Linked DNA regions of Homo sapiens: region 1 is linked to region 2. The links are contacts of gene promoters, found by promoter capture Hi-C in human tissues and cell types (Jung and others, 2019). All regions are on one chromosome and are shown on one strand. The core of a region is centred on a gene start or on the middle of the fragment in contact, and the rest is flanking DNA. Distances in the headings are between cores, read along the strand shown. Region 1 overlaps STAT5A (signal transducer and activator of transcription 5A). Region 2 holds the start of ATP6V0A1 (ATPase H+ transporting V0 subunit a1).

The links. Contacts are between HindIII fragments. The study calls those that stand out against the background at their distance.
Region 1: a contact is called between a fragment that was not itself captured here and the fragment with the promoter of ATP6V0A1 in region 2, in 1 of the 25 tissues and cell types used here (mesenchymal stem cells).

Annotation. Positions count from the first base shown.
Region 1 is chr17:42,293,843-42,300,974 of GRCh38, forward strand. It overlaps STAT5A (signal transducer and activator of transcription 5A), which reads left to right. Exons shown (of 19, transcript NM_001288718.2): 5 at 1,777-1,951; 6 at 5,909-6,039; 7 at 6,288-6,439; 8 at 6,873-7,028. Among named protein-coding and RNA genes, the nearest start is that of STAT5A, 8.9 kb to the left of the region's middle. The HindIII fragment of the contact is 8,359 bases long and covers 1-5,703 here.
Region 2 is chr17:42,456,628-42,463,848 of GRCh38, forward strand. ATP6V0A1 (ATPase H+ transporting V0 subunit a1) reads left to right here and starts at 2,251. Exons shown (of 22, transcript NM_001130021.3): 1 at 2,251-2,336; 2 at 4,221-4,384. The coding sequence starts at 4,268. RefSeq lists an enhancer at 1,871-1,960 and a silencer at 2,111-2,320. The HindIII fragment of the contact is 16,608 bases long and covers 1-7,221 here.

The sequences.
Region 1 (7,132 bases), core at 274-2,773, 160 kb before region 2:
CTTATCACATTGGAAGACTTGTAAGTGGTCAGTGTAACTGGGGAGAAGGAACCAAGTGGGGAGTTGCCATGGATAAAAATAGATAGAGAGGGCCAGGCGTGGTGGCTCACATCTGTAATCCCAGCACTTTGGGAGGCCAAGGTGGGCGGATCACCTGACGTCAGAAGTTCGAGACCAGCCTGGCCAACATGGTGAAACCCAGTCTCTACTAAAAAATACAAAAATTAGCTAGGCGTGGTGGCGGGCGCCTGTAATCCTAGCTACTCGGGCGGCTGAGGCAGGAGAATTGCTTGAACCCAGGAGGGGGATGTTGCAGTGAGCTGAGATTGCACCACTTCACTCCAGCCTGGGCAACAGAGCGAGACTCTGTATAAAAAAAAAAAAAATAGGGGTTAGAAACCAGGTCACAAAGGGTCTTCCAGCACAGCCCCTGTGTCCCTGACTTGTTGCCATCACAGAGCTATCTGCAAACCTAAAAATGACTTCAGCCTCATTGACAAATCCATGTCCATGGTGCTGGTGCTGTCATGGTCTGGGAGCTCATTCCTTCCTCCAACCATACAACTGTTCCTGAACACCCCTGGCATTCTAGGGCTTGGGGATTCTGTAGTTCACAGGAAAGGCAAGGTCCTAGCCCTTGGGAACCTCACATCCTTGTGCAGGGAGACAGACAGAAACATGTAAGCAAATACAAGAACAACACACTTTTAGATAGGACTACTGTGAATTGGCTCGTCAGAGATGACCCCTCTGCAATGGTACCAGTTAAAGTGCTTTGCCTCAGGAGGATCTGATGCCAGAATGTTCCAGACTGTTGGAACAATAAGTGCAAGGGCCCCAGGGCAGGAACATGCCTGTGTGTTCAAGGAACAGAAACAGAAAGCACACATTCCCAGCGAGCTGGGGTTGGAGGTAGGCAGGGCTATGGCCAGCAGACACCATGGGAAGGGGTTTGGATTTTATTCTGAGAACAGTTCATTGGAAAGCCTCTGAGGACTTGTTCCTCTTCATCCATGTGCTCCCTCCCTTTGTGACCTGGTTTCTACCCCTCTCTCTCTATTTTTTTTTTTTTTGAAACGGAGTCTCGCTGTGTTGCCAAGGCTAGAGTGCAGTGGCGCAATCTCGGCTCACTGCAACATCCCCCTCCTGGGTTCAAGCGATTCTCCTGAATGTGCTGAAGGAATGGCTGGATCCAAGGGGAGCTTGTTGATGCCTCCCCTCTAACTTCATTTCGGGGTCTCCAGGATGCCTGTGAGAGTTTCGGCCTCTTCCCTCTTCCTTCAGTCACAAGGGGGTCTTAAGTGAGATGGTGTGTGTTCACACAGCCCTGTTCCTCCCTATGTCCCTAGGATCTACTGCAGTCCATGGTATTGAGTCAGCAAATAAATGTAGAGCGAGGGGTCATCATCATTAGTGGGAAAACCCAGGTGACACCTGGGACGTGTTGAGTTCTAGTCCCTGGGAGGAAATTAGATGGACCCTGTTTGGAATACTCTAGTGGAGGGCAGCTCTGACATAGATATTTGGACTTTGAAGGTGTTACTATCTGCCGTTATCTGCCAGGTCACCTGTTTCTCCTTTCTCTTTCCCTTTTCTATCCCAATTCTGGCAAATGACTCCTTCTGATGCAAATGATCCTTCCTTCTTGCCCTAGTTTCCCTTCTTACCCTAGTTTGGGGTTTGGGGTTTGGGGTCTGTAGTATTGGTGTTTCCTAATGCCTGTGGTCTTCTCCCATCCTCTCTTCCCCGAGTTATTTCCATTCCATCTGTCTCCAGTGCAGCTCTCCGGCTGGGATCCTGGTTGACGCCATGTCCCAGAAGCACCTTCAGATCAACCAGACATTTGAGGAGCTGCGACTGGTCACGCAGGACACAGAGAATGAGCTGAAGAAACTGCAGCAGACTCAGGAGTACTTCATCATCCAGTACCAGGAGAGCCTGAGGATCCAAGGTGAGGCGCGGTGGAGGCAGTGTGCATCCGGAGGGTGGGAGTGAGGAACATTCTATGGACTCCTAGAGGGTAGAGCTGGGTCAGTGTCCATCTCCTCAGCACTTTGCCCAAAGCCTGGTAGAAGCAATGGCTCCCGGTGATTGAGCCCCTGCCGTGGGTCACACTTGGCACACATTATTTAATTCAACCCTCTCAACAAGCCTATGAAGTGAACAGTTGTGTTATCCCCCCTTTTGCAGATGGTAAAAGTGAGGTTCAAAGAGAACAAGTAACTTGGCCTAGGTTGCCTGTAAATTACAGAACTGGATCTCAACTAGAGATATATCATAAAACTCCTGTACTTTATTAACCAGTATTCTCTCCTTAATGGTATGTATTCTGTAAATATCGACACAAATAGGTAAATATGAACAGTGCTCCCTAACCAGAGGGAGGACTTGGATTGGAAGTCTTCTGGTTGAACCAGGCTGGGAGAGGTGGAACTTCCAAAGTGGGCCTTCTTGAGCCTCACGGATAGGATGTGGGCCTGGGGGAAGGGGTGACAGTAGAAAATTCTCCTGTATCCTAGGTCTGTAGTTCGCCAATGGCTCCCATGATAAAGATGTGGGGAAATTAAAAAATCAAATTAGCTTGAAAGGAACTATCCCCAGGTACAATTTGAGGAGTCATGGGACATGGCCCATCTATTAATATGTCCCATTCCAGACTGACCCCAGAAATGTAACACCTCATCTTAGTGAGAACAAGGGGTGTCAAACTGCTTTTTCCTTTACTCTTTTTAATCTGATTTCTTAAGGTAGACCTTAGGTCATTGATTTTAGACCTTTCTTCTTTTCTTTTCTTTCTTTTTCTTTTCTTTTTTTTGAGACAATCTTGCTCTGTCGCCCAGGCTGGAGCACAGTGGCATGATTTCGGCTCACTGCAGCCTCTGCTTCCCAGCTTCAAGAAATTCTTGTGCCTCAGTCTCCCGCATAGCTGGGACTACAGGTGCAGGCCACCACGCCCAGCTGATTTTTTTAGAATTCTATTGTAGCTATTTAAGCTCTCTTCCTAACCCTGCACTGTCAGTGCTTTGTGTACACTGAGACCAGCACAATGCCTGAATATTGCAGCTATTATGTAAATACTTGCAGGATAATTCTAAATGTTTGTTTGTTTGTTTGTTTATTTATTATTGCCCAGGCTGGAGTGCAGTGGCACGATCTCATCTCACTGCGACCTCTGCCTCTCAGGTTCAAACTATTCTCATGCCTCAGCCTCCTCAGTAGCTGGGACTACAGACATGCACCACCATGCCTGGCTAATTTTTTTTTTTTGTAGTTTTAGTAGATACAGGGTTGTGCCGTGTTGTCCAGGCTGGTTGCAACCTCTAGCCTCGAGTGATCTGCCTGCCTCGGCCTCCCAAAGTGCTAGGATTATAGGCGTGAGCCACGGTGCCCAGCCAATACTGACAGGATAATTCTAAGAGAATTTCCCCTCATCTGAATCTATCCCAGACTGGCCCTAGAAGAAGGGCAGCTCCTTCTGAGAATGGAAACGGAAGATTTTGGGCGGTTATTCCTACCCAAGTCCTTAGACTGTCGACAGTATTTCTGATCCCGTGCCTGGCTTTTCTGTTTCCTGTGCATGGTGGCGGATTAGGTTTGGATTCAGGTTGGGTTTGGATCTATCATGCAGTGTCTTCTCAGTCCCATTTGTCAAGTTCACTCAGCAGAAACACAGACTATTGATCTGCTTTTGCCAGGGAAGGCTCAGCTGCCTCCAGTGGAGTAGGGAAATTGCTTCCCGTCTCCCTGGCCTCCTTCCTAAAAGCTTCTGCAAATTTCCAGGAGAGCCCTAAGTGGGTCCCTTGCATAGGAAGGCTGGGCCCAGGTGTTGGGATCACCACCACCCTCCCTGTGGCTGGGCAGGATACCCGAGGTAGCCGTGCAGACACCTCGGATCTGTCCGTGCCTGGATGATCCTCTTCCTGCTCGATACCTGCAGTGAGATTGGAGCCATATTTCTGAGTTCTAGCTCTGGGCTGTTCCTGGCTACATAGAGTTGCTTTTGTCTGTCCCAGCTTGTGCATCCCATGGGTCAGGGCTGGGGTCAGAGTGACGTGGCCCTCAGGGGCCAGCCAGGAGCTCGACCAAGACATGCTGGTGCGCGCATCTTCTGACTCAGCTCAAGCAAGGACGCTGGGCTGTTGAGAAGGTGATGGGAAGGGATTAATAGTCCCAGTGTGGTGGAGACGGGCTGTCGCTGGGAGGGTGGGGTGGGCCTGCGGTGGTGGTTGTAACTGTGGACATGTTTACTTTCTTAGCCTGGGTTATTGATACACAGGCGCCCTTGTGTTCCACATCCCCTGTGTCTTACGTATTTCATAATGGATACTTTTTTTTTTTTGAGATGGAGTCTTGCTCTGTTGCCTTGGCTGGAGTGCAGTGGTGCTCTCGGCTCACTGCAACCTTTAACCCCGGGTTCAAGCAATTCTCCTGCCTCAGCCTCCTAAGTAGCTGGGATTACAGGCATGCGCCACCATGCCCAGCTAATTTTTGTATTTTTAGTAGAGACAGGGTCTTGCCATGTTGGCCAGGCTGGTCTCGAACTCTTGACCTCAAGTGATCTGCCTGTCTCAGCCTCCCAAAGTGCTGGGATTACAGGCGTAAGCCACCGAGCCTGGCACATGATGGATACTTTTTTTTTTTTTTTTTTAGACAGAGTCTAGCTCTGTCGCCCAGGCTGGAGTGCAGTGGCCCAATCTCGGCTCACTGCAAGCTCCACCTTCTGGGTTCACGCCATTCTCCTGCCTCAGCCTCCCTAGTAGCTGGAACTACAGGCACCCGCCACCATGCCCGGCTAATTTTTTGTGTTTTTAGTAGAGATGGGGTTTCACTGTGTTAGCCAGGATGGTCTCTAGCCAGGATGGTCTCGATCACCTGACCTCGTGATCTGCCCGCCTCAGTCTCCCAAAGTGCTGGGATTACAGGCGTGAGCCACTGCGCCCAGCCCCATGATGGATACTTTTTAAAAGCTAGTGAGGCCTGACTTATTCCCTGTCCCGCCATCAATGAGACTCCTCACAGATGGTGTGGAGGGAAGCCGCCTCCCTTCGGCCTCCCTTTCCTGAGAGAATCTTGGTGGCTCTGCATCCCCAGTGGCCCTGGACACGCTCTCCCTCTGCGGTCTGTCTATCTGTCTGTCTCCCCTGGTTGGTCGGCTGGGCTCACAGTGAGCCCACCTGGACAAACATGCTGGGCCCCTTCCAGCCCCTCAAGAATCTCATCCTCCCCTGAGGAGGGACTGCTGTGCTCAGGGACGAGACAGAGCCGCCGGGGCTGGGGTTCCCTGAAGAGGCCTTGCTGCGGGAGGGATGGGGCCGAGCAGCTGCTTGTCTCTGTCACCTCTTCTCTCTGTCCTGTTCCCCGTTAACCAAGAAGCACGAACCTCACACAGAGCTCACCCATGTCAGGCAGCTTTCTGGCATCTTCCATGTCCTCATGTATTTAATCTTCAAGCACCCCACTGAGGCAGGTGCTGAGAATCTCCCGTTTTACACGTGGGGAAGCTGAGGCACAGGAAAGGAAAGCGATTTGCCCAGGTTCACCTGCAGTCAAGGGCATGGGCACACTTACACCCCAGACAGCCTGGACCCATGCTGGGACGCGAGAAGAGGGCTGGCAGCCCTGTGAGGCAGGCGGGCAGGAGGCAGGCAGGCCTCCTCCCCAGCTGCCCCAGCACCCGTGTGCCCCCAGAGGGGACGGCTCAGAGTCAGGAGGCTGGTGAGCAGGGCCCAGAGGCGCCTCCTGAGGCGCCATTCATCTTGGCCCCCCTGGCTGTCAGGAACCCCGACTTGCTCTTGATGCAGTGTCTGAGCCTGGGAGGGTCTCGCTCCAGAACAGGTGAGTGGGCTTCTCTAGGCCTCCTGTTGGACACTAGGAGGTGATGGTCATGGTTTCCTCTTCTCTCCTCTAGCTCAGTTTGCCCAGCTGGCCCAGCTGAGCCCCCAGGAGCGTCTGAGCCGGGAGACGGCCCTCCAGCAGAAGCAGGTGTCTCTGGAGGCCTGGTTGCAGCGTGAGGCACAGACACTGCAGCAGTACCGCGTGGTGAGTGGGGTCCTGGGCCTCTCCTGGGCGTGGGTGCCATGAAGTCAGTCTCTGGGGACCCGAGGGAGGGCTGGGACCAGCATGAGAGCAGAACCTGGGAGGGCAGGAGGCCTTTTTTCCTGGGGGCCTTGCGAGGCAGAGCAGCTTGGGGAGAGGGAACGGCCTGGGCCCTGCCCTGCCATTTCCCAGCGAGGCCCTGCGGTGTTCTCTGGGAGCCCAGAAGGGGCTGCTCTCCTCCCTTCCCTCAGGAGCTGGCCGAGAAGCACCAGAAGACCCTGCAGCTGCTGCGGAAGCAGCAGACCATCATCCTGGATGACGAGCTGATCCAGTGGAAGCGGCGGCAGCAGCTGGCCGGGAACGGCGGGCCCCCCGAGGGCAGCCTGGACGTGCTACAGTCCTGGTAATGGTGTGGGGCGGCCAGCGGGCAGGGCAGGAGGGGCTGGTGGGGACCCCGGCTGCTTCTGCGTCCTGTGCTGGCTCCTGCAGCAGGCCCCCTCCATCCTGGGACAGCTCTTGTTTCTCCAGGGAGCCTGGTTCCTCAATCAGACTTTGGTCCCCATCCTGTGCACCTCCCCCAGGAAGGGGGCTGCTGTCCTGGGGGTGGGATGGGGCTCGGGTGTGTGGGGTGATGCTTGGGCTGTTTGGGCCTAGTCAGGGTCGCCCCTCCTGTGTACGTCTCTAATTCTGGGAGGCAGGGAGCTCTGCTCTTCCCATGGGTGGGAAGTGTGGCGAAAGCACAGAGCCTTCCTGGGGGAACGGGAGCTGTGTCTTGGGGCCTGGCGTCTGTGAGGAGAAGCCATTGTCCTCCTGTTGGCCTTGGGGCTCTCGTGCAGGTGTGAGAAGTTGGCCGAGATCATCTGGCAGAACCGGCAGCAGATCCGCAGGGCTGAGCACCTCTGCCAGCAGCTGCCCATCCCCGGCCCAGTGGAGGAGATGCTGGCCGAGGTCAACGCCACCATCACGGACATTATCTCAGCCCTGGTGACCAGGTGACTGCTGCCTGTTTGCCATGCCCAGGAGCTTGGGGCAGCTCCTGCCTGCGTGGGGGGAGCTGCAGGTGCCTTCCAGACCAGCAGATCCACTTCCTGCCTCT
Region 2 (7,221 bases), core at 1,001-3,500:
GCATCTGCTGCCTAAAAGGCACTATCAAGCAGGCAGTATGAAATTCCATTTCTGAGTCTTGAAGAAGGAAGTCAGGTGGAAAAACAGATAAGAGTCCTACACATAAACGTTTAAGCTTGACAACACTCAAGACCATCAAGGAAGACAGCATGGAGGGAAAATAAATAGAACACTGAGGAAAGATTGATGGCAGGAGATGGAAGCAAACAGAAAAGGAGTTCTGAAACAATATTCTTTCAAAGAAGCCGTGAAAAGAGTTCAAGGGAATTGAAGTAAGTCCACAGGAAAGGCTGTCTTAAAAGTGGAGTATGAAAAATTTGTGGTTAGCAAGCAGCTGACTGAGGTTAATTTTTTTTTAAGTCTCAGAGGAAGGAAATGATATTGTGTAACAGTTTTCTCTAACTTGGCAGGCTTTTAAATGTGGGTCCCGATCTGTCTTGCCAGAAGGGTTGAGAGCTAGGGAGCAGGGAGAAGGAGGGTATGGGTCTCTCCAAGACTCTGTGTCTTAAGAAGGTTGTATTGAAGTCAGGTTATATCTTCACTCACAATATGAGACAATAAATTCAAATAAAACGTCCATTTTTGTCCCCTTATTTTGTTTAGGCTGGTAAAGCAGGTTTGATGATGTTTTTGTCAGGTTGACAAAATTATCAGCAACAAGTTTTTATCTGGAATATCTCCCTCATTACACTTGAATTTCAACAGGGTTCCACCACCCAGGAAGACAGAATAACCGGTTTTCTGAGTTTTTCCTGATACAATTCTGGTTATCACAAACGACTTGAGATCCCTACTCTTCTTTAAAAGGGCAAGAAAAGGGAATCAATATCAATATTTGATAATGGCATTTAAAAAATAATAGACATCACTTTTGCGTTTAAAAAATGTTTTTCAATATTTAATTTACAAGTTGAGTACAAGCCATAAAAAATGTTTTTAAAATAAATTTGAGGAATTGAAAACTCCTAAGTGGTCAATTGAGCCCACATGAATCTACCAAACAAGACTGAAATGTACTTTCACAACATATGGTCTGATGAGGTTTTTCCTGTTAAACAGAGAAAAATAGACCCGGGGAAGTTGCTGGAAGGCATGAACCATGTACCATTTAAAGAGAGGTTTTCCATACTTATGCAAATGAGACCCCGTTAAAGACTCTACTACAGGATCTAAAGCTAGCCGCTCCCCAGTCTGGGGCTCAAATGTTCTCATCTGTAAAATAAGGGAAAAGAGAAAGGGTGGTATATGTGTCTGCGTATTAATTATTTGAGTGTGTGTGTGAATTCTTTGGATATGAAAATAAAGAGAGAAGACATTAATTATTTGGGTGCGTATGTGTGAATTAATTCTTTGGATATGAAAATAAAGAGAGGGCCGGGCGCGGTGGCTCACACCTGTAATCCCAGCACTTTGGGAGGCCGAGGCGGGTGGAGGCCAGGACCAGTCTGGGCAACATGGCGAAACCCCATCTCTACAAAAAATACAAAAATAGCCGGGTGGCGTGGTGCGTGCCTGTAATCTCAGCTACTAGGGAGGCTGAGGCAGGAGAATCCCCTGAACCCGGGAGGCGGAGGCTGCAGTGAGCCGAGAACGCGCCACTGCATTCCCGCCTGGGAAACAGACCATCTAAAAAAAAAAAAAAAAAAAAAAAAAAAAGGCCGGGCGTGGTGGCTCACGCTTGTAATCCCAACACTTTGGGAGGCCGAGGCGGGTGGATCACGAGGTCAGAATTCGAGACTCAGCCTGGCCAACATAGTGAAACCCCGTCTCTACTTAAAAAAAAAAAAAATACAAAAATTAGCCGGGCATGGTGGTGCGTGCCTGTAGTCCCAGCTACTTGGGAGGCTGAGGCAGGAGAATCGCTTGAACCCGGGAGGTGGAGGTTGCAGTGGGCCGAGATCACGCCACTGCACTCCTGCTTGAGCAACAGAATGAGACTTCAAAAAAAAAAAAAGAAAGAGAAAAGACAACCTACCCCAGTATAAGGGGTAAGAAAAAGGATTCAGGGAGGCTCAGGAACTTAAGGCCTCGAGCACCTGCACCTCCAGCCCCACCCGCTAACCCTCCCCAGCGTGGAGATACAGCACAGGGGCCAACATGGCGTCAGCACGCTGGGTCTCGCCTGCGACCCCCGTGACTCCGCACTGCTGCAGCCCGGGCGAGGCTGCGCCCCATTGGCCAACTGCAATGAGGTCATTGCGGGGGCGGGGGCCGGCGGCGGCGCAGGGGCGGGGCTTTACGGACGCAAGCACGTCGAAGCGCTGCTCCTGGAGCCGCGGAGGGTGCGGGTTTGGCTGCGGTGGTTTCTGTGGCGGTTGCTGTGGCGGAGTTTGGAGGTGAGTGGGGGCTGTAGGTTTAGCGCAACAGGGAGCGGCCCTCGATGGACGTAGGAAATCCTTCTAAGAGCCCCCTTGATTGTCAGAGGAATTAGCGGGGATCTGACGTCTTCGAGATAAAATGGGGGTTCGCCCCCTCCTTGGGCACCCCTCCTCTGCCCTGAGGAACCGGAGGCTCACTGCCCTTTGGAAGCCCCGCATCTCTTCCCTGCTTTAAGGGGTAGGCGGAGGAACCGGAGGTTATTGGATAGGCAGAAGAATTTAGGGGGCTTCTTAAAGGGTTTCTCAGTTTGGGGGTTTTCCTCTCCTTTTTTCCCATCTCAAGGTAGATGAGCCTGAGTCCAGAGAATTCCTGCTCATTGGGTAGACAGGAAATGAAGCAGGTGAATACCGTGGGAGGAGGCGAGGACCGGATGACAGGAGTGAGATTCTTCTAGGCAGGGCGCGGGGGCGCTGTAGTTGGACTCATCTTTTGCAGAATTGCTGTTTCTTCATATTTTGTTTTGTGATCGTCCAGAACTACTTTGGCCTAATTAGTTTTCTGTTAGCCTCCATTGCTATAGAGATATTCTTGGGAGACCTATAATCATTAAAGAGCAGGAGGACGGAGGCGACTCGTTGGAGGCTTATCATTATCCACAGCTCCTGAACTATGCTGACCAGGCCTAATTTTATGTGTTTAGAGGTTGTAGAATCTCTCTTTGTTTAAGGGTGGTGCCGGTAACAGCTGATTTGGATGATTCAGATGTACAGAATCTTAAAGTCAGCCTGCATATTCTCTTGAGAAGTCCTTGCTTATGTCTGAGCTTGTGTTACTGTCTTGAACATCACATGCACAAAGGTTTGTTCGTTCAGATTTCTCAAAATGTCTCCCAGCCTTCCAGAAGAGTAAATCTTCCTTTGATGTCAGACTCATCTATCAGTACTCAGTATAGATGCCCTTATGACACTAAAAATACTGTGCATTTTTCTGAGTTTGGATACTGGACAGGCTGTGCCTTACATTAGCTGATCGAGAATAAATAATTGCAGTTTCAGGACCACTGATAGCGCCAGTTGTCTCATACCCGGCAACAGTAAGACAGCACTAAAACGAAACCTTTATTGGCTCATGAGATTTGACAGATGGAAGAATGTAATTAATCTTGAAGGTAGGGTTGAGAAACAGAAAGCTGCAGAGGTGGAAGGCTTATTCTCTGTGGCTTGATAAAACTGCTTTGTCATTATCAGTGTGTTCCTGTCATGCTTGATTTGAAATTGAGCTTAATATGCAAACTGGTTGCTTTTTCCAGATGACGGTTATTTGTTTGAATTCCTAAGTGGGGAAATATTGTTTTCTGAGGAATCTGGAAGATTAAACCCTTTAGTGTAGCCATAGCTTTAGGATAGTGCCAGAACTTTGGGCTTTTAGAAATGCGCATTGTCAGTAGAAGGGAGAAGGATAGTTACAAGGCAGACATCTTTATGAGAGGGTATTGAAGGCCTCTTCTGTTTGTTTCCTGCACTAGCAAAAACAGATTGAGCAGTGTGAAACTCACTGCCTCAATATTGTGTCCTGGGTATTTAAAGAGTTGTTTGAGGTTCCCAGTTCCTGTCTTTAATCTGGATACATTCTTATCAGTTGAGTTGCCCAAAATAATTGTCATTTGATCCTGATGTTGACTGGAATGGAAGTGACTTTTCATCTGACACTCTGTGGGACAGAATTCAGGAACTGCCTTTGCAATTTCTCCTTTCCATCTTTCTAGACAGGGTGTCAAAAACAGTTGTTGACCTGTCCTCATGGGGTGTTAGAAATGTAAATGCAAGAGCCGTAGTGGGGTGTCATTTGCTCTTAGCCCTCGTGGTAATTTCCAAAGTTATGTCATTTTCTCTTTGCTTCAGGTTGGAGAGAAATCCAGGTACTCACTAGACTGGTACCTTCTGCCACCATGGGGGAGCTTTTCCGGAGTGAAGAAATGACACTGGCCCAGCTTTTTCTACAGTCAGAGGCTGCTTATTGTTGTGTCAGTGAATTAGGAGAACTTGGAAAGGTTCAGTTTCGTGACGTAAGTAGTTGTGGGGCTGCGACTTGATTACTGCTGAACTCTATTGCTATCGTGGTCAGATGCCTTATGATGAATGTTTTGTTTTTTATTTGCAAAAATAACATTATAGCACTGACTTCCTATTGGCAGAATGCACATTTTGAGTTGTCTTTCTAAAGGTGAGAATGTTTTGTGCCAATCTTTACATGCTTTTGCTAGCTCCCACTTTCAGAACAGTCCTAAGCATTCTCCAGGTAATTGTTTGGGATGCAGGGAGAGGTTACCAAACTAACCTGATCAAGGCTTTCACTTGCTAAATAGCAAGGTATTTAAAAAAATATATTGCAGTTTTTCCATATAGTAGGACATTTTAAAAAAAATAAAATTTGAGGTATCCAGCTACAGATATATAGTATATAAATAAGCATATACTGAATATTCATTATTTTGGAATATTATACTGGGCACTTGGAGAAGCTATCTAAAGAATATGGACAATCTAGCCTGGGTACAGTGGCTCACGCCTATAATCCTAACACTTTGGGAGGCTGAGGCGGGCGGATCGGGAGGTCAGGAGTTTGAGATCAGTCTGGCCAACATGGTGAAACCCCGACTCTACTAAAAATACAAAAAAAATTAGCATGGTGGCGCAGGCCTGTAATCCCAGCCACTCGGGAGGCCGAGGCAGGAGAATCGCCTGAACCTGGGAGGCGGAGGTTGCAGTGAGCCGAGATTGTGTGATTGCACGCAGCCTGGGCGACAGAGCAAGACTCCGTCTCAAACAACAACAACAACAACAAAAAACTTGTCATCCTTAATTTGCAGTTCTTCATCTGGTCCTATGTTGTCCCTCTGCTTAACATCTATTGGCTCTATTCAGCCTTCTTTTCTTTTACTTATGCTGTACTTCAGTCATACAAAAAAAAGAGATAGGGGCCAGGTGCAATGGCTCACACCTGAAATGCCAGTACTTTGAGAGGCCAAGGCAGGAGGATCGCTTGAGCCCAGGAGTTGGAGACCAGTCTGGGCAACATAGGGAGATCCCGTCTCTGCCAAAAAAAAAAAAAAAAAAAAAAATGCCGGATGTGGTGGCACATGGCTGTGGTCCCAGCTGCTTGGGAAGCTAAGGTGGGAGGATCGCTGAAGCCCAGGAGGTCGAGGCTGTAGTGAGCTGTGATTATGCCACTGCACTCCAGCCTGGGTGACAGAGCATGACACTGTCTCAAAACCAAAAAAAAAAAAAGAGGTGGGGGGAGTATTATAATGACCACCTATGTTTCTACTATCTGCTTAAGAGGGAAACATTCCGTGTATAATTGAAACCTCTGTTTCTCTTTGCTCCATGCCAGTCCTTTCTTCCACCCCAGAGGTAACCCGTACAGTGATTTGTTTTGCTTTTATTTCTCCTATGTGTGGTTTTTGTTGTTGTTGTTGTTGCTTTTCTTTTTGAGACAGAGTCCACTCTGTCGCCCAGGCTGGAGTGCAGTGGTGTGATCTCAGCTCATTGCAGCCTCCGCCTCCCAGGTTCAAGCAATTCTCCTGCCTCAGCCTCCTGAGTAGCTGGGACTAAAGGCATGCACCACCATGCCCAGCTAATTTTTGTATTTTTAGTAGAGACGGGGTTTCACCACATTGGCCAGGCTGGTCTCGAACTTCTGACCTCTGGTGATCCACCCGCCTCGGCCTCCCAAAGTGCTGGGATTACAGGCATGAGCCACCATACCTGGCCAACAGATATTTCAGTTTCTTCTAGTTCTGTTAATTTTTTTTTAATAATAAAATTTATAACATTAAGAAAAAAAATAGAGATGGGGGTCTCGCCATGTTACCCAGGTTGGTCTTGAACTCCTGGACTCAAGCGGTTCTCCTGCCTCAGCCTCCCAAAGTGCTAGGATTACCGGTGTGAGCCACTGTGCCTGGCTGAAATGTACACATCTTAAGAGTACAATTTGCTGAATTGATAACTTTATACACCTCTGTAACCAGCACCCCAATCAGGATATGGAACTTTTTTTTTTTTTTTTTTTTTTTTGGAGACAGAATCTTGCTCTGTCGCCCAGGCTGGAGTGTAGTGGTGCGATCTTGGCTCACTGCAACCTCCGTCTCCTGGGTTCAAGCAATCCTCCCTCAGCCTCCTGAGTAGCTGGGACTACAGGCGCACACCGCCGAGCCCGGCTAATTTTTTTTTTCTATTTTAGTAGAGATGGAGTTTCACCATGTTGCCCAGGCTGGTCTCGAACTCCTGACCTCAGGTGATCCATCCCCCCTCAGCCTCCCAAAGTGCTAGGATTACAGACGTGAGCCACCAGGCCCAGACTGAACATTTTCATCAGTCCAGAAAAGTATCTGTGTCTACTGCTAGTCAGTTGCTACCCTTCATAGGTAACCTCTGTTTTGATTGCTGTCATCATAGGATTAGTTTTCCCTGTTCTTGAATTATATGTAAACGACTCATACATTGCAAACTCATGTCTGACTTCTTTCACTCAGCCTCTGTTTCTTGCATGTATCCGTAGTTCATTTTTAAAAATTGCCGAACGGTAAGTAGTTCATTGTATGATTACACCACAGTGTTTTCATCCTTTCTTTTGTCATTACTCTTTTGGGGCTATTATGATTAAAGCTGAAGTAAACATTATCATAAAAGTCTTTTTTTTAGTTTACAAGTTTTGATTTTTCTTAAGCAAATACAGTTGATCCTTGAAAATGCAGGGGTTAGGGGTGCCAATCTCCCCATGCAGTCAAAAATCTGCATACAATTTTGACTCCTCCAAAACTTAACTATTGATAGCCTGCTTTTGACCAGAAGCCCTACCAATTTCATAAACAGTCGATTAATACATATTTTGTATGTTATA